Linked DNA regions of Homo sapiens: all the other regions are linked to region 1. The links are contacts of gene promoters, found by promoter capture Hi-C in human tissues and cell types (Jung and others, 2019). All regions are on one chromosome and are shown on one strand. The core of a region is centred on a gene start or on the middle of the fragment in contact, and the rest is flanking DNA. Distances in the headings are between cores, read along the strand shown.

Evidence for each region. Contacts are between HindIII fragments. The study calls those that stand out against the background at their distance.
Region 2: a fragment that was not itself captured here is called in contact with the fragment with the promoter of SAP30 in region 1 in 1 of the 25 tissues and cell types used here (lymphoblastoid cells).
Region 3: a fragment that was not itself captured here is called in contact with the fragment with the promoter of SAP30 in region 1 in 2 of the 25 tissues and cell types used here (mesendoderm cells and thymus).
Region 4: a contact is called between a fragment that was not itself captured here and the fragment with the promoter of SAP30 in region 1, in 1 of the 25 tissues and cell types used here (lymphoblastoid cells).

What each region holds. Positions count from the first base shown.
Region 1 is chr4:173,367,158-173,373,194 of GRCh38, forward strand. SAP30 (Sin3A associated protein 30) reads left to right here and starts at 3,797. Exons shown (of 4, transcript NM_003864.4): 1 at 3,797-4,340. The coding sequence starts at 4,026. It overlaps SAP30-DT (SAP30 divergent transcript), which reads right to left and starts at 3,541. Exons shown (of 4, transcript NR_183973.1): 1 at 3,135-3,541; 2 at 2,277-2,453. RefSeq lists enhancers at 483-552, 3,018-3,257, 4,341-4,904, 4,608-4,907 and silencers at 3,658-3,827, 4,108-4,487. The HindIII fragment of the contact is 15,433 bases long and covers 1-6,037 here.
Region 2 is chr4:172,924,728-172,930,764 of GRCh38, forward strand. The region is part of intron 8 of GALNTL6 (polypeptide N-acetylgalactosaminyltransferase like 6); the gene reads left to right. Among named protein-coding and RNA genes, the nearest start is that of GALNTL6-AS1, 200 kb to the left of the region's middle. The HindIII fragment of the contact is 3,335 bases long and covers 2,763-6,037 here.
Region 3 is chr4:172,979,591-172,985,627 of GRCh38, forward strand. The region is part of intron 10 of GALNTL6 (polypeptide N-acetylgalactosaminyltransferase like 6); the gene reads left to right. Among named protein-coding and RNA genes, the nearest start is that of GALNT7, 190 kb to the right of the region's middle. RefSeq lists an enhancer at 2,763-3,022. The HindIII fragment of the contact is 4,686 bases long and covers 1,083-5,768 here.
Region 4 is chr4:173,045,662-173,051,698 of GRCh38, forward strand. No RefSeq gene overlaps it. Among named protein-coding and RNA genes, the nearest start is that of GALNT7, 120 kb to the right of the region's middle. The HindIII fragment of the contact is 3,478 bases long and covers 681-4,158 here.

The sequences.
Region 1 (6,037 bases), core at 2,547-5,046:
AAGACCTTTCAGATTATATAATCTTGAAGCCCCCCTAAAACCTGATTCCAACCTTGACTGTGAGTTACACTCAAATCAAAGAGTTCTTATACCTGCCCTAAATATGAAGATTTGTAGAAATAAGTAACAAAACATGGTTGTAAAAATGTATCTAAACAAATAGATTCACTCAAGATACACTTTAAATCTGGCAGTGAGAATTAACATGTCCCCTACTCCAGCAATCTTTTCAACTTGCCAGAAATGAATCATTTCCTCCTATGTGCTATGCCTGTACTTTCTCTCTATTGTTATTGAGGTTTGTATTATGTGCTTGTTAAGCTACCTGTCTGCCCTACTAGACAAGAAGCTCCCAAATAGCTAGGACCCTCTCAATTATTTTTGTGCCTCCAGGGCCTAGAAAAAGATTCTAGCATGCAACAAGTGACTGTTTAATAGGATCTTTTTACAACCATTGTATTGTGTGTAAAGGAGCCATAGCTACAGTTCTTTACTTGAGTAAGCTTCATATGAAACTGATAACTATACATATACATACATGCACAGCTTAAGGAGATTCACAAAGTACTTATCAGTAAGCATCTTTCTTTTTCCTACTGAATTTACATGATTTGGTCACATTTTGCAGAAGATATAAGCTTTTTTAAGCACAAGAACCAAACAATATGAATTTCATGAACTATTTTAAAAACACATAAATGTACAAAGAAAAATATGAAAATTCAACATCCCACTGTCATGTTTCAGATATTTTTAATAAATAAAAACTTTAAAATTCAGAAGAAACCATCTTTAAGCCATTCCCAGTGTGAAAATTGATCATACAATCTGGATCATTCTTGTCATACCCAACTAAATCAGAATCGAGGGACCAGGGGAGAAAGCAATCAGGGCACACAGCTCTAGCATTAAGAATTAAGTTTTTTACAACCCAGCTGCTGAAACGGCCTGCAGTAACTCTAAGACCAGTTTTACCGAGTAGTTGCTGAAACAATCTCCTATGACTAAGACTGGTTTTATCTACCACTCTCACTCACCAATCAGAGCTTGCCAGCTTCCCAAAACTTTACTATAGTGCCAATGAACCTTCTTTCAAAACAGTAGCAACATTTCTCTTTCTAATAAAACTCTCGACCTTCTCTTTGTTCTTCTGACATACTAAAGACCACTCAGTCTGTGTGTATGTCCTGAACTGCAATTCTTGCTTCCCCAAAAAACCATTAAATTTAGAAATTCATCTCTTTATATTTTATGTTTACTCTGACACCATATACAAATTCCTTGGCCTCCTTCGTTGGAGATGAGCATCACCCTGAAGTTGGGATGTATCATCCCATCCATATATTCTCATTTTTACCACTTAAGAAAATGTATCCATAAATATATAACATGTATCCATAAATATATAATTATTCTGTGTTGTAATTTTTTTTTTTTTTTGAGACAGGGTCTCGCTCTGTTGCTCAGGCTGGAGTGCAGTGGTGCAATCTCAGGTCACTGCAACCTCTGCCTCCTGGGTTCAAGCAATTCTCCTCCCTCAGCCTCCCAAGTAGCTGGAACCCCAGGCTTGTGTCACCATGCCTGCCTAATTTTTGTATTTTTAATAGAGACGGAGTTTCACCATGTTGGCCAGGCTGGTCTCGAACTCCTGACTTCAGATGATCCACCCTCCTCGGCCTCCCAAAGTGCTGGGATTACAGGCGTGAGCCACCACGCCCTACTGTGTTGTAATACTTTAAGCCAGTGTTATCTAATGCAACAGGTACAATTTATTGTAATATTTTGTTTAACCCATTACATCCAAAACATTTAAACATATATAAAAATTTTTAATGTGCACTTCAATATTCTTTTTGAAAATTTCTTGTAGTAAGTCCAGAAATAAAAAAAAAGTCCAGCTGATATATACTTACAGCACATCTCAATTCATATGCTAAAGTTAGAGTTCATAAAATTTAAGTTGGAAAAACAGATTCATATATCTGAGTTGTTGCAAACACACTTAAAAGTATTCCAACAATTGAATCGAGCATCAGGTTTTTGGTTTTTGTTTAATTCAAATTCAATTAACGATTCAGTTTTTCCGTCTCAACCACATTTCAAGTGCTGAGTAGCCACATATGGCTAGAGGACAGCCTACTGGACAGCACAGCTTAAGGAGGTACACAATGTACTTATCAGTCATCATCTTTCTTTTTCCTACTGAATTTACGTAATATTTAAATTGTTTTTCTTTGTCATATCCTAGAACTCAAACGCACAGATACAATGGATACCTTTGATTTTCTGCGTCGATGGCATTTTGCATTTAAAAAGATCATCTGGGTGGGGTGGCGCGCGTCTGTAATCCCAGCTACTCGGGAGGCTGAGGCAGGAGAATCGCTTGAACTCGAGAGGCGGAGGTTGCAGGATCGCGCCACTGCACTGCACTCCATCCTGGGCGACAGAGCAAACTGTCTCAAAAGAAAAAAAAATCATTTATCACTAAATTTACTCACCAAAAGAACTTGCAAAAAAAAAACCCAAAACCCTACTGCCTAAAATATATTTTAAAACGTATTTGTGTTTAAGCAGCATATATCTTTTGATAAATAATGACGCATGGTAGCTAACTAGTAAAGATGCAGCTTTCATATTAGCCACGCCCATCCCTCTCTCCGCCCTCCACAAGCACGTCCCCGCAAGCGCGCAGGAACATACACGCGTACGCGCGCACACACACGTACACACGCGCGCGCCCGCGAACACATACATACAAGCAGGCGCGCCCAAACGCCGGCAGCACACAGGCGCGCACGCGCTTTTCAGGACTCAGGAAATGCGCTTTCTGCTCCCCGCGCCCGGTAGAGCTAATGCAGGGAAGTTTCTGGGAACATTCGACCAGCGTTTGTATTGGTGAGGTTCCAAGTTTCCTTTAAAATGATATGACTCCGCCCTTCTCCAAAACCGTTTGAGGAGAAATGGAAAAGGTTGGGCGTGGAGGTGAAAAGGAGCCCTGTTGTCAACTGGTCCGTACTCCACCTCAGGAGGCGGCCAACTTGGTGCGCCCAAGAATAAAAACATTTCCCTTGTAAGAACATGCAAGTGTTTAGAAACGCCCCCCCACCCCCCCGCAAGGCGTTTGTGAGGGGGACCTGTCACAGTTGAGAAGTCAGGATGGGCGTTTTCCTCCCAGGAGGTGCCCTATTAATTTGCGGCCTCGATAGTTGGTCAAGCCGGGATGTTAGCTGCGGAACCTCCAGGACCGAAGAGCGCCAATTCTCCTGAGTTCTCCTTGGTTTGGGTTTCCCACAAAAGAGTGGTCACACCAAAAACTCTGTCTCCACAAATGCGAAACGGGCTCGAAACTTTTTTTTCCCCACACGATCACTTCCCACACCACTCCCATCCCTTTATGTTTCGCCTCAGGAGTCGAGGAACTTCTCTGAAAACCAATTCTACGATATTCCAGCAGCTAAACACAGCCCGAATTCCCTAGAAACAGAGAGAGCGAGAGAAAACACTGTAAACCCCAATCACACGCTCCTGTTTTCCCGGTACTGAAAAAAAAAAAAAAAAAAAAAAGTGGGTCCGTGGCCGCGCTATGCATGCTAGGATTAGTAGTTCCTCCGTCCCTCATGGCGCGGGGTCAGGGCGGAGCTCAGGTTGACTCTGCAGCAGAGAACTACAATTCCCATGGGGCCGCGCGGCAGAAAGAAAGGGGCGGGACGGGAGGGGGCGCGTCGCGCTTGCGCAGGTCCCGGGGCCGGAGGGAGGCGGAGGCGTAGCGGTCCAACTGCTGAAGTCCCCATGTGACAGTGAGCGGGGTCCCCGCTCCAGGAGACGCTCGAGTCTGCGTCCCGGCCCTCAGCACTGTCCACTGTTTCGGTGCCAGCAGAGACCAGCAGGCCCGGGACAGTTGGTGTTTGGCCGTGCCGCTGTCTAACTTGGTGTGCAGAGTGAATTGCCGCTGCCGGAGCGGAGAGAGGCGGAGCGGCCAGGAGAGAGGGGATTTCTGTCAGCGCCGGCCTCGGGAGCTCGGAGACATGAACGGCTTCACGCCTGACGAGATGAGCCGCGGCGGGGATGCGGCCGCCGCAGTGGCCGCAGTGGTCGCTGCCGCGGCCGCCGCCGCCTCGGCGGGGAACGGGACCGGCGCGGGCACCGGGGCTGAGGTGCCGGGCGCGGGGGCGGTCTCAGCGGCTGGGCCCCCGGGGGCGGCCGGGCCGGGCCCCGGGCAACTGTGCTGCCTGCGGGAGGATGGTGAGCGGTGCGGCCGGGCGGCAGGCAACGCCAGCTTCAGCAAGAGGATCCAGAAGAGCATCTCCCAGAAGAAGGTGAAGATCGAGCTGGATAAGAGCGTAAGTAAACCGCGGGACCGCCCTGCCCTCCCGCCCCTCGGTGGGGCCCCAGGAGCCGGGCAAAGGCACGGGTTGTCGGCGGGGTCCCCCAGACAACCGCACTGGCTGCAGTGCGGTCTCGTGGAGTCTGTGTTTGGAAGCAAATAACAAAGTCGCTGCAACTCCTACCGCCACCCCAACACACACACCACACACAGGCTGTCGTTCCCCTCTTCTTTCCCACCCTGGCCCCCAACCTCCCGCTGCCTGCGTCTCTCCCGCGCAGTCTTCCCTCTTCCTTCTCCTCTGCGACCGGGACACGAAACAAAGGGGACCGGCGCACTGAGGGCCCAGAGTAGTTTTCTTGCAGCCCGGCAGCTCTTCTGGAATGGAGGCGCCTTTGTTTTGCTGCCCAAGCTGGTGTTTGGCCCCAGGCGGTACTAAATCCCGTCGTCTAGGAGAAAGCGGAGGACCTTCACGAACAAGGAAGATCCTGTTCTTTTCTGTGTTCCGTCTCCTCCGGAGCGGAGTGAGAGGGAAGCCGAGCTCACCCGCCGCCTGGCAGTGAGCCGGGGTTGTAAACGGCGTTTGCGCTGTCAGCTCCGAGGGCAGCTACTCCGATGGTGGGGAGCACGTAGCCTCTGCGGTTTTGCCATCCCCTTGGCAGCCATCAGGATTTTTTGCACGTCTTTTCGTTTGACCATCTATGAGGTTTTTAGAAACAGCCGTTGCTACTTTTGGGAGATCTGGCTAGCGGTAAATGAATAACATGGTATCGAGAACCTACCACAAGTCCTGCATATTTTTATCTTGCGCTTGGCTTAGAAGTAAATGTAAAAGCCTGTTAGCTCAGTCCGTGTTTGTTTCAAATGCTAGTCTACAGCTCGCAGGAGTATATGTAATTAAAGTTTTTGAAAAGTTTATTTGTGACACTTTTTGCCCGTTTAAACAGTTTTCAGTGTTATCCATGAGAAACTCTTCAGGTGAACTTGCATAATTTCAGATTGTTTTGGAAAAATGTGTTATAGATAAATACATTGATTTAATATTCAGAAAAATGTATAACTGAAATTTAAATATAGTTTTGAAGTCGATGGCTCATTTGTGAAAACGAATGGTTTTGTATCTGGACTATAATTTGGGTATTCAGTTAGAAAGACTGGAAAGCATACATTATATTACTAAAATATGCTGTTCTTTTAAGTAGAGAAAGTACTGTCAAGTAGCAAAACTGTGAGCAACATCATCTTTCCCCTCATCAGTTAAAAATTCAACATGAACTAATTCAGGTCATCCTTACTGCTATCTGTTTGTTTATTTATTTAAGACAAAGTCTCACTCTGTTGCCCAGGCTGGAGTGCAGTGGCGCGATCTCGGCTCACTGCAACCTCCAACCACCAGGTTCAAGTGATTCTCCTGCCATAGCCTCCTGAGTAGCTGGGATTACAGGCTACTGCCACCATGCCCGCCTAATTTTTTGTATTTTTAGTAGAGACGGGATTTCACTATGTTGGCCAGGCTTGTGTGGAACTCCTGAGCTCAAGTGATCCACCCGCCTTGGCCTCCCAAAGTGCTGGGATTACAGGCGTGAACCACCGCGCCCAGCCCCTCACTGCAATTTGATGACAAAACCCAGAGGGTTGGAATTTCTCATTCTCCTCTCCCTCCCTCCCTTACCCCCTTCCCCAGATGGAACCAACCCCTCCTTCCCCATCCAC
Region 2 (6,037 bases), core at 3,180-5,679, 440 kb before region 1:
ACTGAGAGACAAGTAGGCAAAGACCAGATCCTGCAAAGTCTTGGAACCTTTATGGAGCAGTTGTAACTTTGCCCTAAGAGCAGTAGAAAACCACTGAAGGATTTTGATAGAGGAATGGTATGCTCAGATTTATGTTTTTTACTGTTTTGTTTTTTGTTTTTTCGAGACAGAGTTTGGCTCTGTCGCCAGGCTAGAGTGCAGTGGCGCGATCTCGGCTCACTGCAAGCTCCACCTCCCGGGTTCACGCCATTCTCCTGCCTCAGCCTCCCGAGTACCTGGGACTACAGGTGCCTGCCACCACGCCCGGCTAATTTTTTTGTATTTTTAGTAGAGACGGGGTTTCACTGTGTTAGCCAGGATGGTCTCAATCTCCTGACCTCGTGATCCACCCACCTTGGCCTCCCAAAGTGCTGGGATTACAGGCATGAGCCACCGCACCAGGCTTATGTTTTTTTTTTTTTTTAAAGTGATCATGGGGCCGTAAGAAGGAAAAAAAAATAAATCGCAGGATTCTATAGTTTTCTCAACACTGAATTTAGAATTTAAAAAGTCTGCCCAGAAGTTTCTTGAATTTGACTTAACTACACAGAGAAACTTCTGAGGGGAAGAATTTTAAGAACCAGGATGAGGTTATCGATAGAAGACATGAATTTTGAGTCCTTGGAAATGGTAGTAACAGAACTCTAAGATGACTCTCTTCCTTGGTTTACTCACATGAGTATGTCAACGTTACATGGTAAAAGAGATTTGGCAAACGTAATTATCAATCAGTTCACTTTAAGAAGAGGAGGTAATCAAGGTAGGCCTCATCTAGTCACATGAGTTTAACCACTGCTGGGATGGAAGGTCTGTGAAGCAAGGAACTAAAAATGGTGTCGATAAGCTGAGAATGGTCCCCAGTCAGCAGCCATCAAGAAAATGGGGATCTCAGTCCCATAATTGCAAACTGAATTCTGTCAATAACCTAAGTAAACTTGAAAGCAGATTCTTCCCCTGAGGCTCCAGGTAAGAGCTCCACCCAGCAGACACCTAGACTTCAGCCTTGTGAGACCCTTGATGGAGAACCTTGTTGAGCCCTCATGGACTCCTGACCTACAGAACTGTGATACAGTAAATGTATGTTGTTTTAAACAACTAAGTATGTGGTCATCTGTTATGCACGTACATCTGTAAACACCATGTTAGAGTGACCCTCTGAGAATAATTAGTTGAAATTTTATTACTGTGTGTTTATTAGGTTGTTTTGCTATATCTTAAGAAGGAAAGAGTCTTACTTACCCATTTGGGCTGCTATAGCAAAGTGCTACAGACTGAGTGGCTTATAAATAACAGAAATTTATTTCTCACTGTTCTGGATGCTGCAAGTCTGATATCAGAGTGCCAGCATTGTTGGGTTCTGGAGAGGGCCCTCTACCAGGTTGCAGACTGCCAACTACTCATTGTATCTTCACATGGTGGAAAGACCATGAGAGAGCTCTCTGGGGTCTCTTTTACTAGTTCACTAATTCTATCCTTGAGAACTCTACCCTCATAACTTAATCACCTCCCAAGGACCCTACCTCTGAATACCACCACATTGGAGATTAAAATTTCAACATTTGAATTTGATAGGGTGGATGGATACAAACATTCAATCCATAACAGAAAGCAATAATGATTTATTGAACTTTCTATTACGGCACTTTTCATTCCGCAAATACTCTCCTAAGATGCATTTAGTTCACTTCTGCTCACTTTGTAAGTATTTTACAAGATAACATTAAGTGAAGAATAGGTTAAGGCCAGAAAATGTAAGGCATTGTTCCAGACCTTGACCCCACATCTTGTCCTCACTTATCACCATCTCCTAGTCCTGCAGGAAAGATTGGCCACCTCCACAAGCTAATCAATATTGTCACTTTTTTGTGAAAAACAAAAGGCTGTGCCAACAAATTCCTATCTCCCAGCTGCAGATGATAAGAAAGTTTCTTTGCCTTGACATTTGCTTATCTTTGACCAATAAGCACTGACATTTGATTATACACTGGACTATCCAGCATTCTCCTCCCTCCCATTTCCCACCCTAACACCTGCTGTCTAATTACTTTTAAATTCTACCTCTTTAAAATGCAGGAGTAAGAATTAAAGTAATCTCTCAAATAATTACAGTCACTAAATTTGATTAAAAATATCAGAAGAGGCTGAGAAAAAAATGACTGTTCATTAGGGTGGAACAACATCTATAATAAATCCAAAATCTTGGTAATTTAACATTAATAAGAATTTTCTATTGCTTGTCTCACAATTTGGAGGAGGAGGCATGAGCAATGCTTCACCCAGTTTTCAGCAACCCCGTCCCCATCCATTTAATGATTCTACCATCTGCTAGGGCCTCAGAATCCTCCTCTGTATCTTCTGCAATTACTCAGGCTCTGAGGGAAAAATATATTATAAATAAGGTAGAGAAAGTAGTCCACTTGTAATTTCTTTGGCCCAGAGGTGATGCACATCACTTCCATTTGCATTTCACTGTCAAGAAACAATTACATAGTCACATCTAAATACAAAGGAGCTGGGAATTATAACTTGGCTGTGTGCCCAGGAGGAAGTGAGCATGGAAATTGCTGAGTCCTAGCTCTGTATCCCGTACAATAGAATAAGATGAAATCTATGAGTGATCCATAAATTTTGGTTATCGGTGTTAGTAATTCACCTTTATCATGGATTTAGAAATATGTAGTTCCAATTACTACTGTTGCATAACAAAGCTTAGCACCATAAAGCAACTGTTTTATTAAGCTTTTGGATTTTGTGGGCCGCAAATTCAAAAAAAGGCACAGAGGAGATAGTTTGTTTCTGCTCTGTGATATATGGAGTCTCGGGGGGATGATTCAGCAGCAAGGGGCTGGAATCACGTAGAGGCATCTTTATTCACAGTGCTGGCAGCTAATGTTGGTCATCAGTTAAAACCCCAAGTAAAGGTATTTACCCAATGCATGACATCTCAGGTCCTTGGACTTTTTCACAATGGAGTAGCCTCAGAGAGTCAAATTTCTCACATGGAAGCCCAGAGTTTCAAAAACAAATGCCCCAGAGGACAGGCTATGTGGCCTTTTATGACCTATCTTCAACCACTTCTGTTGTACTCTACTGGTCTAAGAATTCATAAGCCCACCCTAATTCAAAGAGAGGAGACATAGACCGATCCCCTAATGGAAAGTTGGTTACCGAGGTCACATTGCAGAGGGGTATGTGCAATGGAAGATATTGTGGTGTCTAATTTTGGAAACTATAATCTCCCACATACATTATCTTAGAATCACTGAAAGTTAGTGTTTGAAAGGATTAATTTCTTTATAGAACAAGAGCCAGCAAACAATAGTCCACTGCCAGTTTTGGTAAGCAAGGTTTAACTGAAATACACCATGCCTATTTGTTAGCAGATTTGAGGAGTTCCAAAAGATACCATATGACCTACAAAGGCAAAAGTATTTATTTTCTGGCCCTTTACAGAAAGAGTTTGCATAATCTATAGATACAATATCAATTAAACACGTGGACACTGAAGTTAGACTACTAGGTTTTCAAATCTCAGTTCTGGAAGTGGCCAGTTATGTGGCTTTGAACAAGCTACTTAGCATCTCTAGGCTGCCATTTTCCCACCTTCATAATTGGGGAAACAGTAAAGTCTGTCATTGAATTGTGAGCATTACATGAAATAATTAATGAAAAGGGCATAATTAGCATTCATAAATGCTAACTTGTGCTGTAGAATTGCCTTAAATTATCAGCTAGATCAAATGTCCATTTGAGTCATATGTTTATCTCCAGTGTCATCTGCTGCAGATTTCAACACATCTAGTGATACAGGAAGTCCATTCTATCTTTAATCATTTTATTAGAAATTTCTTCCTACTAGGTTGAAATCTGCCCCCTTACAGCTATATGCAATTAATCCTGGTTCTATCTCCTAAAGGCTCTACAAAACATCTCTTCCAAATATTGGGTTCTTTGAAAAGGCTATCTCTGAATTTTATCTTATCAGAACTACACATCTTTAGTTCTTTCAATTGCCTCTCCTAAGACAGAGTTCACATCACTTTTCAACTTTAAAATTCCCCTTAGAAGGAAATATAAAGCATTTATCCAGAAATTAGCAAAAGACTTCAGGCCTGCAGATAGATCTAGATCGTTGGTCCCTAAATTCTCCATAGTATGTTAATGATGTGTGTTTTGTGCTACTCAGTCTTTTTCCACACTTCCTGCTGTGGAAGAGTTGATTTCTTAAGATCCTGGGACAGGTGTTTATTGTTGCCTTTTTATGTTCAATGTTATAGAGCTCCAGCCTGTGGAGATCTTTCCATATGTTGATAATGTAGTTTAGACTGTCCACTGCCCTTACCAGCTTTATATTACCCACACATATTTCTGAAGGCTTGATCCAAATCGTTACTAAATATCCCATCAAGTTGAAATTAATACTATGAGTAATCCTGAACTCAATTACAGCAACTGAATGTTGCTTTAATAATTGCACTTATTCCTTCCTGGACTTCCATTGACCTTAATCACCATTTGTTCAACCATTCTCGCTTGGGTGACATTCCTCTTAGTGAAAGAAGTTGGAAGCAAATATAAAGGAAAACATAAGCATTTCTCTTTCTCTCTTTCAATATTACACTTCAAATCAAGATATGTATCTGTATTACTCAGGGGTCTCCAGAGAAACCAAACCAAGGGAAGAGAGAGATTAATTTTAAGGAATTGGTCCACACGATTGTGGAAGCTTGGTAAGTCCACAATCTTCAGAGTAGGTGGGCAAGCTGGAGACTCAGGGATTCTGCTGGCAGAATTCCTTCTTGCTCAGTAGAGGTCAGACTTTGTTCTATTAACACCTTCATCCAATTGGATGAGGCCCATCGACATCATGGAAGGTAATTCACTTTACTCAAAGTCCACTGATTTCAAATGTTAATGGAATGCAAAAAACACCTTCACAGAAAGATCCAGAATAGTGTTTGACCAAATATCTGGGCGCCATGGTCCAGCCAAGTTGATTCATAAAATTAACCATCAGAGTATCTCTTTTTATAATCATTTATCTTACAATAAAAATAGCTAAGACTATAGCCTATATGAAGCCTGGATTTATGTTTTGATAATTAGTTCTTTTATAATAGAAGATCTGTTATATAAAACCACAATTAAGTGTGCGTCTGTCTGAGAAGGTTGTCATGGTAAAATATAACCATGACTTTTGTTACTAAATATAAAAGTACAGCATCTAGGGCCAGGTGCGGTGGCTCACGCCTGTAATCCCAACACTTTAGGAGGCCGAGGTGGGCGGATCACCTGAGGTCAGGAGTTCAAGACCAGCCTGGCCAACATGGTGAAACCTCGCCTCTACTAAAAATACAAAAAATTAGCTCAGCGTGGTAGCGGGCACCTATAATCTCAGCCACTTGGGAGGCTGAGGCAGGAGAATTGCCTGAACACAGGAGGCAGAAGTTTCAGTGAGCTGAGATCACACCATTGCACTCCAACCTAGGCAACAAGAGTGAAACTCCATCTCAAAAAAAAAAAAGTACAGCATCTTAACTGATTATTTTCTGTACCTAAGAAAAAGATCAGTGGCGGGGGGAGAAATGAGAATGCAACTCTGATTTTTAAGGTTAGCACTGTTGCAAGTTTCAGAATGCAACTTAAAAGGTATGATATGCTTGTGTTCTTTAAAGCATTCACCTATTTTTAAAATTTCACTTTTTATATGTTAAATTTTTAAATTGGCATTTTAATTTCAAATGTTATTTCTTCAAATGATTTTACAAGATTATTGAAACAAATATCTATATAAATAAGATGTCTAAGCATGAAATGTGGGTTCAATACAATATTTGTAACAAAATTTTACTAGAATTTTTCTTAAGCCAACATGTTGTCTATGGAAACAGGATTTTATTGAACTAGTATTTTAGTTTTGGTTTTGTTTTGTTAAGACAGGGTCTCGCTCTGTTCCCCAGGCTGAAGTGCAGTGGTGCAAACATAGCTCACTTCAGCA
Region 3 (6,037 bases), core at 2,176-4,675, 390 kb before region 1:
AGTGAACTATAAAATTGCTTATGGAATTTAAAAGCAGATTGGTTTTATATCTTCCAGCTCATTCAAATATTCACCTGGCTTTAGGAGCCCTTTGAGTTACCCTGCTTGGTTCTTAAACACTGGTTGACACCTACCACTGGAAAGCTTGGCTGTTAACTACTTGAACTACACTTTGAAAAACCAATCTTGGTTAGTTTCTCAAGAAGACAGCATGCATTGAAAGGGACAATCTCAGATGAAGCAGGAATAGAGGGGTAAAATAAAAACAAGAATGCTTACCACTTTCTAATGTCCTCCCCGCAATTTGAAGTAATCCCTGTCCTTTTGGGAATTTCCAGTTGTTATCTCTCCTAAGACAATTATGCACCATCGTGGAAAAACAGATAATGCTATATGTCTTTGTAGCTTTTCTCCTTGTGCATAAAATGAGGGTGAAACACCTCATCGGTGTGAGATAGAGTCAGCTCTAAATATACTGAGAAAATTGTGTTTACACAGAGGCCGTATTGACTACATCTCCACTTCTTTCACCTCACAGAAAAGGAATTAGGTCCTGCCTTATGTGATCTGCTAGTCCCCATCAGACTCTACAACTTGGTTTCTTCTCTTGCACAGATTTACACAAAGCAAAAGCAACTGTCCCAATCACTACCAAATAGGCACTGTATGATACTTTTGTATTATATATAGACCTAACTTTAAATTTGCCATTTTAATCAGTGGCATACCAGTACAGTGACATTAGCATGCATTCACATTGTTGTGCAACCAGCACCACTATCCATCACCAGAATTTTTTTTATCATCACAGCCTGAAACTCTAGAGCCATCTTTATTAGTCACCTCTGGCTGCTATAACACAGTGCCACATAGTAGGTGGCTCGTAAACAACATACATTTATTGTGTCACTGCTCCTGGAGGCTGGAATTCTGAGATCAGGATGCTAGCATGGTCAGGTCAGGTTCTCGCGAGGGCTGTCTTCCCACCTTGGAGATAGCCACCTCCTCTCTGTGTGTTCATATGGTTGTGCATATGCTGGGTTTGGCGGGCGAGGGGAAAAGACCCCTCTTCCTTCCTCTTGTTGTTAAGCCAGTTTTATCAGATTAGGACTCCATCCTTATGACCTCATTTAGCTTAATTACCTCCTAAAAGCCGTATCTTCAAATACACTTACATTGACGGTTAGGGCTTCAACATATAAACTGGCAGGGGGGAGAGAGGGGCACAATTCAGTCCATTACACCATTAAACAATAACTTCCTATTCACTCTCCCCCAGTTCCTAGTAACTTCCATTCTACTTTTGTTTCTATCAATTTGACTGTTTCAGGTACCTCACATAAGTAGAATCACACAATATATTTCCTTTAGAGACTGGCTTATTTCGCTTAGCATAATGTCTTCATACAACATCCATGTCGTTGTATGTATCAGAACTTGGTTTCTTTTTAAGGCTGAATAATACTCCATTGAATGTATATACCACATTTTCTTTATGCATCCATCTGTCAATGGACACTTGGGTTGTTTCCACCTTTAGGCTATGCTTAATAATGCTGCTGTGTACATAGGCATATAAATATCTGTTCAAGCCCTTGCTATCAATTCTTTTGGGTATACACCTAGTAGTGGAATTGCTGCATCATATGGTAATTCTGGGTTTAACTTTTTTGAGGAAACGTTAAACTTTTCTTCCATAGCAGCTACCCCATTTGGCATTCCTACCAACAGTGCACGAGGGTTCCAATTTCTCCACATACTTGCCAACACTTGTAGTTTTCCACTGTTGCTGGGTTTTTTTAACAGCCATCCTAATGAATGTGAAGTGATATGTCACTGTGGTGTTAATTTGCATTTCCCTAATGACTAATGATGTTAAACACCTTTTCATGTATTTATTGAACATTTGTATTTCTTCTTTGGAGAGATGTCTAAAACATCTTTTGCCTGTTTCTATTGGTCTATATGTCTGTCTTTATGCAAGTACCATACTGCTTTAATTACTGTAGCACTATAGTAAGCTTAGAAATCATGAAGTGTGAACCTTTCGACTTTGTTCTTCCTTTTCAAGATTGTTTTGGCTATTTTGGGTCCCTTGAGATTCCATAGGAATTTAAGGATAAATTTTTATATTTCTTAAAAAAACATTGAGATATTGATAGGACTTGCATTAAATCTATAGAATGCTTTGAGTAGTATGAACGTCTTTTTTTTTTTTTTTTTTTTTTTTAGATGGAGTTTCGCTCTTGTTGCCCAGGCTGGAGTGCAGTGTGATAGCTCACCGCAACCTCTGCCTCCCAGGTTCAAGCGATTCTCCTGCCTCAGCCACCCAAGTAGCTGGGATTACAGGCATGCGCCACCACCCTGGCTAATTTTGTATTTTTAGTAGAGACGGGGTTTCTCCATGTTGGTCAGACTGGTCTTGAACTCCTGACCTCAGGTGATCTGCCTGCCTCGGCCTCCCAAAGTACTAGAATTACAGGCATGAACCACCGCACCCGGCCAAACATCTTAACAATATTAAGTCTTTTGATCCAAGAACACAGACATCTTTCCATCTACTTATGCCTTCTTCAATTTCTTTCTGCATGAATAATATTTTAGCCAAATGTTTCCACAAGCTCACTGCCCTTCTGCCCAGGCAGGTCCCAAATGCAGCTCAGCAGGCTTCCCAGGTTCCTCAGAGCCCTCCCTCTGCTCTCTCCATGACTCAATCACCACGGGACATCTCACACCAGAATAAAGCCAAGGAGCTAAACTAGAGGGAGGAACTGTGCCCTTAACGTGATTTTTGGCTTTATTGTCCCTGGCTAAGCTTCTTTGTTTATTTGTGTGAGTCAGCTTCACATTTCCTCTAGAATTGAGACTGCTATCAAAACAGGCCCTGACATGTTAGCCAGCAGCCAGTCTATACATAAGACAATGGTCCTCATGACTGAAAGTCAGAAGAGATGCTGAAGTCTACAATTAGTGTGGGGCTTTCACAAGCTCTTGAGGCCCCAAGACAAGGGGTTGGAATCCCAGGTTTACTACTGACTCACTATAAATTACCTATGTATTGTCTAGCAGGTTGAATGGCAGCCCACAAAAAGATATGTCAAATCCTAATTTCAAGAACATGTGAATGTGACTTTTTCTGGAAAAAAAAAGATAAGATATTTTTAGATGGAATGAAAAGATAATACGAAAAAAATTTTTTTTCCAAAAAATATTTATCTGAGATGAGATCATCCTAGATTTTCTAGATGAGGTATAAATCCAATGAAAAGAGTCTTTGTAAGTAGCCAGGCACAGAGGGTCAACTATCACATGTTCTCACTCATAAGTAGGTGCTAAAAAATGTATACATATGGATATAGAGAGTGCAATAATAGACAATGGAGACTCAGAAGGGTGAATGGGTGGGAGGGAGGTGGATGATGAGAAATTAGTTAATGGGTATAATGTACTTCATCTGGGCAATGGATTCCCTAAAAGCCCTGACTTGACCACTACACATTCTACGCATGTAACAAAATTGCACATGCACTCCATAAATTTATACATTTTTTTAAAAAAAGAGTCCTTGCAAGAGACATTCAGGGAAGGCAGAGATTGCATAAGCCACCACAAGCCAAGGAATGCTGGCAGCCACCAGAGGCAAAGAACGTAATCTCCCCTAGAGCTTCTGGAGGAAGCACAGCCCTGCCGACAGCTTGATTTCAGACTTCTGGCCTCCAAAACTGTGAGATAATAATTTCCAGCCACCAAGTTTGTGATCATTTGTTCCAGCAGCCACAGGAAACTAAGACACCTTGTTTCCTCATTCAAAATATGAATAATGGACAGGTGCGGTGGCTCACACCTGTAATCCCAGCACTTTGGGAGGCCAAGGCAGGCAGATCATTTGAGGTCAGGAGTTTGAGACCAGCCTGGCCAACATGGTGAAACCTTGTCTCTACAAATAATACAAAAAGTAGCCGGGCGTGGTGGCACATGCCTGTAATACCAGCTACTCTGGAGGCTGAGGCAGGAGAGTCACTTGAACCTAGGAGGCAGAGGTTGCAGTGAGTCAAGACTGCACCATTGCACTCCAGCCTGGACAACAAGTGCAAAACTCTGTCTCAAAAAAATATATATATATGAATAATAATAGTACCTACTTCTAGAGTTGTTGTGATGGTTAAATAAAATTATCATGGAAAGCAAGTAGCATAGGGCCTACCGCTGCAAACTCTCAATAAAACCCTGATTAGCATTACAAATGGAGGAGTGAGGCAACACAATGCCGAAGCTTATAAGAACCAGAGGTCCAGGAAAATCATTGTTTTTGCCTGAGACATCTCCCGGTTGATTTTTTTTTTTTTAAGGTTAAAAACTACAGTCATTTTCTTGCTTACTGAAGTCCATGGGGTATAGGCAAAATATCACATTCTGCATTCCAAAAAATAAGTATCAAGCTCCCATGTGTTTGTGCAATGGGAGATGGGGAGAAAACTATATATGTAACAAACATATGAAAATGTTCTTAGGCCACCAGATATAGAAAGCAAAAATACTTTGTGTGCCAACTGTTGTGTCTGTATATGCGTATGTATTCGTCCGTTCTCAGATTGCTAATACAGACATACTAGACTGGGTAATTTATAAGGAAAGAGCTTTAATGGACTTACAGTTCCACATGACTGGAGAGGCCTCAGAAAACTTACAATCATGGCTGAAAGCAGCTCTTCACAGGGCAGCAGGAGAGAGAATAAGTGCTGAGCAAAGAAGGAAGCCCCTTATAAAACCATCAGATCTCAGGAGAACTCACTCACTATAACAAGAACAGCCTGGGGGAAACCGCCCCCATGATTCCATTATCTCCACCTGGTCCTGCCCTTGACATGTGGGGATTATTACAATCAATTCAAGGTGATATTTTGGGGGGCGGGGAGCACAGAGCCAAACCATAGCAGTGTACATTTCTTCTGGAGAGTTCATAACTTTCATCAGATTCTCAAAAAGAGTCTGTGTGGAAACAATAGACACTGGGGACTCCGAAAGGAGGGAGGGGGCGAGGACGGCAAAGCCTGGGAAACTTCCTACTGGGAACTGTGTTCACTGTCTGGGTGACAGGATCAGTAGAAGCCCAAACCTCAGTATCATGCAGTATCCTCTTATAAGAAACCTGCACATGCACCCACTGAATCTAAAATTAAAATTGAAATTAATAAAAATAATAAATTAATAAAATTCTTTCAAAAACACTGCCATGTAAAGGAAGTTATAATTGCTCTAGGAAATTAACATTTCTAATTACTATAATAATGAACATTTTTTATGCAACAGTGGATACTAATGGGAATTTATGCTATTAGAAGATTATGCTGTGTTAACCCTAACAAAAAAGAACCTGTACCCCCCAAAAATGTTAATCACTTACATAAAATAATACTGATGGCCTTGAATAAAGTGCTTAAGGCCAGGCTCTAAAAAATAAACCAGGCAAGTATTACATTCAGCCAGGGGGCTACCTGTGGCTCAAAACATCATTGCTGGAGCCTTGCCCATGACCCAATTCCAGCAATATGAGATGAGTCTGGATTCGAGGAAGAGATTTGAGAGAGAAATGAACAGCAAGTGCCTTCGACAATATAGCAATCTCCCAGTTGTGTAGTAACAGAAAGTGCATTTAAACATGACCTGCAAAAAGTTCTAGCAATAAATTCCTTTTAAATTGTTTGGTGAGGCCTCTTTGTGGAACTCTAAGATTAATTGCAATAATAATAATAAATTGTTGTCATTGTGACCCCTCACATTCATAATCAGACAAACTAGATAGAAAATATTTAACATTTTTTCTTTATTTAAAAGGCAATTATTGAGTAAGTACTACATCTTGGTAACCACCTGACAGGTTCATCTTGCCTATTGCCTAAACAGCTGATTTATCAAGACAGGGAATTGCAATAAAGAGTTTAATACATGTAGAGTCAGCTAAATGGGATGCTGAAGTTTTCTTACTACTCAAACCAGCCTCCCTGAAAATTCGAAGACTAGGTTTTTTTTTAAAGAT
Region 4 (6,037 bases), core at 1,170-3,669, 320 kb before region 1:
ATTGATAACCTAAAACTTTATGCAATAAATGAATAACAGAAAATGAAAATGGACCTACAAGCAATGAAAGAGTGTGTTAGGCCCGTTCTTCTCATGTTTCTTGGAAAACATGAAACCCATGCCAACACTTGACATCATTTCCTTTAGGAGCAATGTTTTAAAAGAAGCCAAATATAAATAAGTAAATACCTATTAATATTTTGTGCTTCTTCCTCTCAGATGAAAAACTTTTATTTCTATCTTTTTATAAATATCTCCATAAGGAAATAGTAAAAAAGAATGCTTTCTTGGAAAAATAAGCTCTATGAAGTTTATGGCTGACCTATCAAAAGAGTTAGCGCCCCAGGCGCAGTGGCTCACACCTATAATCCCAGCACTGTGGGAAGCCAAGGTGGGAGGATCACTTGAGCCCAGGAGTTCAAGATCAGCCTGGGCAACATAATGAAACCTCGCCTCTACAAAAAATAAAAAAAATTAGCTGGGTGTCATAACACATGCCTATAATCCCAGCTACTGGGGAGGCTGAGGCGGGAGGATCACTTGAGCCCAGGAGGTTGAGGCTGCAGTGAGCCATGATCGCACCACTGCACTCCAGCCTAGGTGACAGTGAGATCCTGTCTTTAAAAAAAAAAAAAAAAATTCAATCACACTTTGATTACAAAGCTGGCTATCCAGCAGTCATAGAGGGCCACACCTGCCACTGTGGGACATTCTTGGCCCAGGATATCACACACCTAAGGACTCAGAAGAAAGTTGATGATAAGGCTATGCCAGATGTGCCTTTGACTTCTTGTCTTACTGCAGAATCTCCCCCAGAACTAGGCAGTTCACCTGACCCTCCCCTGAAGAAGAGTGCTAGGTTATATTTTTTCAGAATTTAGAATCATCCTAACAATATGACATTGTGAACATTGATTTATCCCTAAAAACTCATTTAGTAAAATGTCTTTAGGCTTGTTACCCTGGCAGGATTATGAGGCTGCAACGCGCTTCCATAAACACATGCTGGAGATATGCTGGAAATAAAGCATTTCTTATAAATCATGAGAAAGAATGCCTCAAAGGGAAAATATTTTTAAGTGATTCCCTATGATTCTGGGAGTACATATAAATGGAGATAAGTAAATTGTATCTCTCAACATGGGGCATGCTTCATTCTCTCCCTTCACCTCATCGACCAGTCCTGCTCCTGCCATCATTCCTCTCAGATGACACCACCAACTGTAATTACTCTCCATGTGTGAAACGGTGGCCGAGGACACTGAAGCGTGACAAGTGGCCAGTCTTTCCCACACTGCCGACATTGGAAGATTGCTCTTTGATTTATGTCTATAGCCTTTGCTTGCAGAACTGGGAGCTGTTTGCAACTCTATTTGGTAGACTTGACATTGACCTGAAGCTTTTATTCATAGTCACTCATCTCTGAGCTTGACATACCAGACTGGTGTGTCTGGTACTGCAGCCTCTTGGCAGACAACAGCTCAGGCACATGTTTGATGCTTCACTTCAGAGAAACCTGGAAACATTTCTTCCATCCCTGCTGCCTGAAGTTGCCTGCTTCTTCCCAAAGCACAATAGCTTCCTGGGCTTTCCACAGGCCTCTGCTGTCCTTCTTTGCTCATTTCAACGTGGTTCTCCAACTGACCTCAGTACAGAAAGGCTGGTTATATTTCAGAATCTTTTTGTCGATGAGTTTATTCTGACTTTACTCACCTTGAGGGGGCTATTCATAACTAAACAGCTTAGGTGCTGGGTTTACCTATGTTACTTTATGCGTATGATTTTTGTCCTGTGTGATTTTTAATAATGCCCCTTTTACTGTTTTTTTAAATTTTTACTTTTATTATTTTTGAGAGGGAGTCTTGCTCTGTCACGCAGGCTGGAGAGAAGTGGTGCAATCTTGGCTGACTGCAGCCTCTGCCTCCCAGGTTCAAGCAATTCTTGTGCCTCAGCCTCCCGAGTAGCTGGAATTACAGGCATGTGCCACCACACTTCACTAATTTTTATATTTTTAGTAGAGACATGGTCTCACCATGTTGACCAGGCTAGTCTCGAATTCCTGACCCCAAGTGATCCACCTACCTTGGCCTCCCAAAGTGCTGGGATTACAGACCTGAGTCACTGCATGCCAGCCTGTTTTTATTTTTTAGAGACAGGGTCTTGCTCTGTCGCCCAGGCTGGAGTGCAGTGGTGCAATCTTAGTTCACTGCAACCTCAAACTCCAGGGCTCGGGTGATCTTCTCGCCTTGGCTTCCCAAAGTGCTGGGGTTACAGGTGCGCACCACCATGCCTGGCCCCTTTTACTCTTAAAAGTGTTCTAGTTTCAGTAACGAATTAAATACTCACCCTATTTATAATCCACGTGCCTGTTTATAATTCCTGTAGGAAAGAAAATGTATTTTGCTTATTAAGGCTTACAGTCTACAAGAAATCAACTCGACTTATTCCTTCCCTTCAAACAGGACCAGACCAAAATCAGCTTCTTGATGACTGTGTATTGCATTCACACGGGTCTTTACAAGTTACTTAATGAAAGCTTTGTAATCAAGAGTTCTATATCCACCTAAATCTCTTTGCTGAATGAAGTCTAATTTAAATGATTTTTTCATAATTTAAAAAATTTATTTGAAATCAATGCAGTCATTTTATATTTTTTCAAGCTCAAAACAGTAGATCGCCAACATGGCCTATTAACCACACTATTAATTCTCAATATTATGGTAAGGTGTAGATAGATAGATGATAGATAGATAGATAGATAGATAGATGGTAGATAGATGATGGGTGGACATGCTATTTGCATTATTGCTTTTGTTTTTCTAAGCAATTTTATATGTATTATCTCACTCCACACTTATAACAATCTCTGGTGTAGATAATATTATAATCCTCATGAAAAAAACTGAAGGACTCAGAGTTAAGGGGCTTGCAAGGGGCTAGCAAGTTAACAGCAGAATCAGGACTAGATAGATTCAGGCCTTCTAATATGTAGACCTCTGTTCCTTCCATTCTCCATGGTAGTTTATACCTCACTACAGGGTCATTCACCCAGAGCAAAGCCCATATGAGTTGTATGGAGGTACCTCAAAATAGCAAGATCACTCATTCCTTAGGGACTTCTGTTTTTAACCCCTTAATTATGTTTGTTCTTCTCTGTACCTGTGTGTTTTTGTTGATTTTCCCACAAGCTTATTAAAGTAAGAACTGAATCCAGGATTAGTCCTTCTTAATGAGATTTCTAAGGTACTTTTAAGAAAAGAAGTGATCTATTAAAGCTATTTGCATAGCTCTAGATGACAAATCCAAAAGCAAATACTGTGTTCTTGGTAATTATCAATGGGTTCAGTCCTCAGGGAGAGGAAAACAGTCATTAAGCAAAGAATTTGCACTCACTTCGCAGTAAGACTCCAAGCTGACCTTCTTTTAATAGTCTTATTTCTGAAAAGTTGTCAGGCACATCTCTTAGCCATCTGAGACTCTCGGTCTGCACTGATGTGAATTCTCTCTGGCAGTTTTTCTCTTCTGAGGGTACAAGTTAAACATGTGTATTACTAGGCATTTTGGTCCGTTTGGGCTGCTTTAACAAAATATCATACACTGGGTAACTTACAGATAATAGGAATGTATTTCTTACAGTTCTGGAGGCTGGGAAGTCCAAGATGGAGGAGCAGGCAGATTCAGTGTCTGCTGAGGCCCCAGTTTCTGGTTTAAATAAAGATCACATCTTCTCACTGTGGCCTCACATAGTGAAAGGGGCAAGGGAGCTCTCAGGGGCCTCTTTCTTAAGGGCACTAATCCCAATTATGAAAGCTCTGCCTTCATGACCTCATCACTTCCTAAAAGGTCTCCCTCCTAATACCATCACTGTGGAGGTCAGGATTTCAATATATAAATTTGGGGGGTAGGGACACAAACATTTAGAATATAGCACCAGGTCTTACCCCAAATCTACTATATCAGAATTTCTGGGTTAGGCCACTAGATACAGAAAATTCTATTATCAAAGAGATAAATAATTGCTTTGTGCCCCAGTTCCTAATTTCCTACCACTAGCAAATCCAAGTTAATTCTCTGACATGGTTGTTCACAAATAAACACTGCAGATGTCTGGAAGAATGATCAGTTGTAATCCGAAGCTATTATAAATTTGCATTGAGAGAAACATGCCTAAGAACATTTTATTTCAAAAATCCTCTGGCTTTTGTTAGGTCAGTGATCATTGAACCTTAGTGTTTAAACACCTGGAGGTAATGTTAAAACACAGATTGCTGGGCCACCCCTTAGTGATGGAAATGAGGCTCAAGAATTTACATTTCCAACATGTTGCTAGATGATGCTGATGCCGATGGTCCACATTTGGACCACATTTGGAGTCCACATTTTGAAAGCTATTGGTTCAGACCAATGGTCTCACCACTTCGAAAATATCTTCTTAAAGATAATTTTGTTAATGTTACATGTGTTTAGAAAGCCTTAGTTATATTTAAGAGGCATCTATTGGAAATGATAAAACCCCAACACACTCAAAATTCAAACAAGCGTTAATTTAATCCAATAAATATTTATAGCTGGAAGAAAGTTTCTCCTATAAATTCTTTAAAGCAGGATCACAGAATTTGAAGACCAAGAATAGGCAGTATTATGGTATCACAGTAAATATCTTTTCAATCACTTAAATTTCTCAATTAAAGTATAACAAATACATCAAGACCCCTACTTGAAGTGCCTGGTATTGAGTCTCACATTAATAATCTGATATTATTGTCCCTTTCTCTAAATTCCTAGTGAACTTCATTCTACTGTAGAATAGAACTGAAAATCAAAAGAAGGCATAGCATGGTGAACTGATTTACTCAATATTGTTTTTCAGTGTATTAGTCCTTCTGCCCCCAAACCATGCTTTTTCTCAAGTTTTGTCTTGGGAAAGGAAACATTAATTTCTGATGGCAAATAACCAGCCAAGATAATTTCAAATACATTGTGTAAATACAGTTGAGCTATGGTTCCCCCCATCTTTGAAAAAATGCTACAAGTTTAATTAAAAGTCTTTTAAGTGTAACAATATCTCACTATGCTCAACTCAGTTCACTAACTTTGTTAGAAAAAAGTTGCAGAAGGTAAGGAAAAGCTTAGAATTTCTGCTGTTTTAACTGTGGTTCTCTCAGATTTGTAACTTTCTTTTCATTGAAAATAAACACTAAGACCTTCTTTAATGGTCATTTCTACCTCATCCTCTGTCTTCAGAAACAAAAGGTAATTTAATTTTTTTCTTTTCAGTTTATTTAAATTTCAGCCTCTAATGGCACACACAGTAAATCCTCCACATTATTTTTTTCCAAATATTTTTCTGTTATTTTTGTGTATACTAAGGATGCATGAAAGAGAATGTATGGGAAAGGGTGTTTCACTTTACTGATGTTTGCTATTCAAATCTCTACCACCCAGAAAATTGTTTGTTATGGAATTTATAGTGTGGTTTTGCACCAATAATCCAAGCCATGTGTTCAGATTTTATGGTGAAAAAAAAAATGCAGCAGATGCAAGATATCCTATTAGGGTCAAAACCTAGACAGTGCATCTCAAATCAAAAGGATAAAATTAGATGATCAGGACTTTCAGTTTTTGTTAAAGATAAAGGGAGTATTGAGGGCCTGTCCAACACTCCCTATTCTAGTAAAGAATGGATGAAAGGAGGTGGGAAAGTGTCTATGGGTGGGATTGGGAGAGAGAAAGAAACAGCCATGCTTTATTGCTTAAGACAATTTTTTTAATGTCCTAGAGGAAGCAGCAGGGAAGTGTCAGAGTGACTGAGATGTCAAAGAAATAATCTCACAAAAGAAATGCTGCATTTGAAGCAAGGAGCCGCTTCTCATTAATGTCTACCCGCTAGCAAATGGTTAGGGTCAGAAACATGTACATTCTCCAAAACTGCCTTCAGTTGGAAGACAAGGATATATATATATGTATATAAAGGAGCTCAAACAAGTATTAAATAACTCTGCAGAGTCAGCCATTGAAATGTTTAAAATAAAACAAT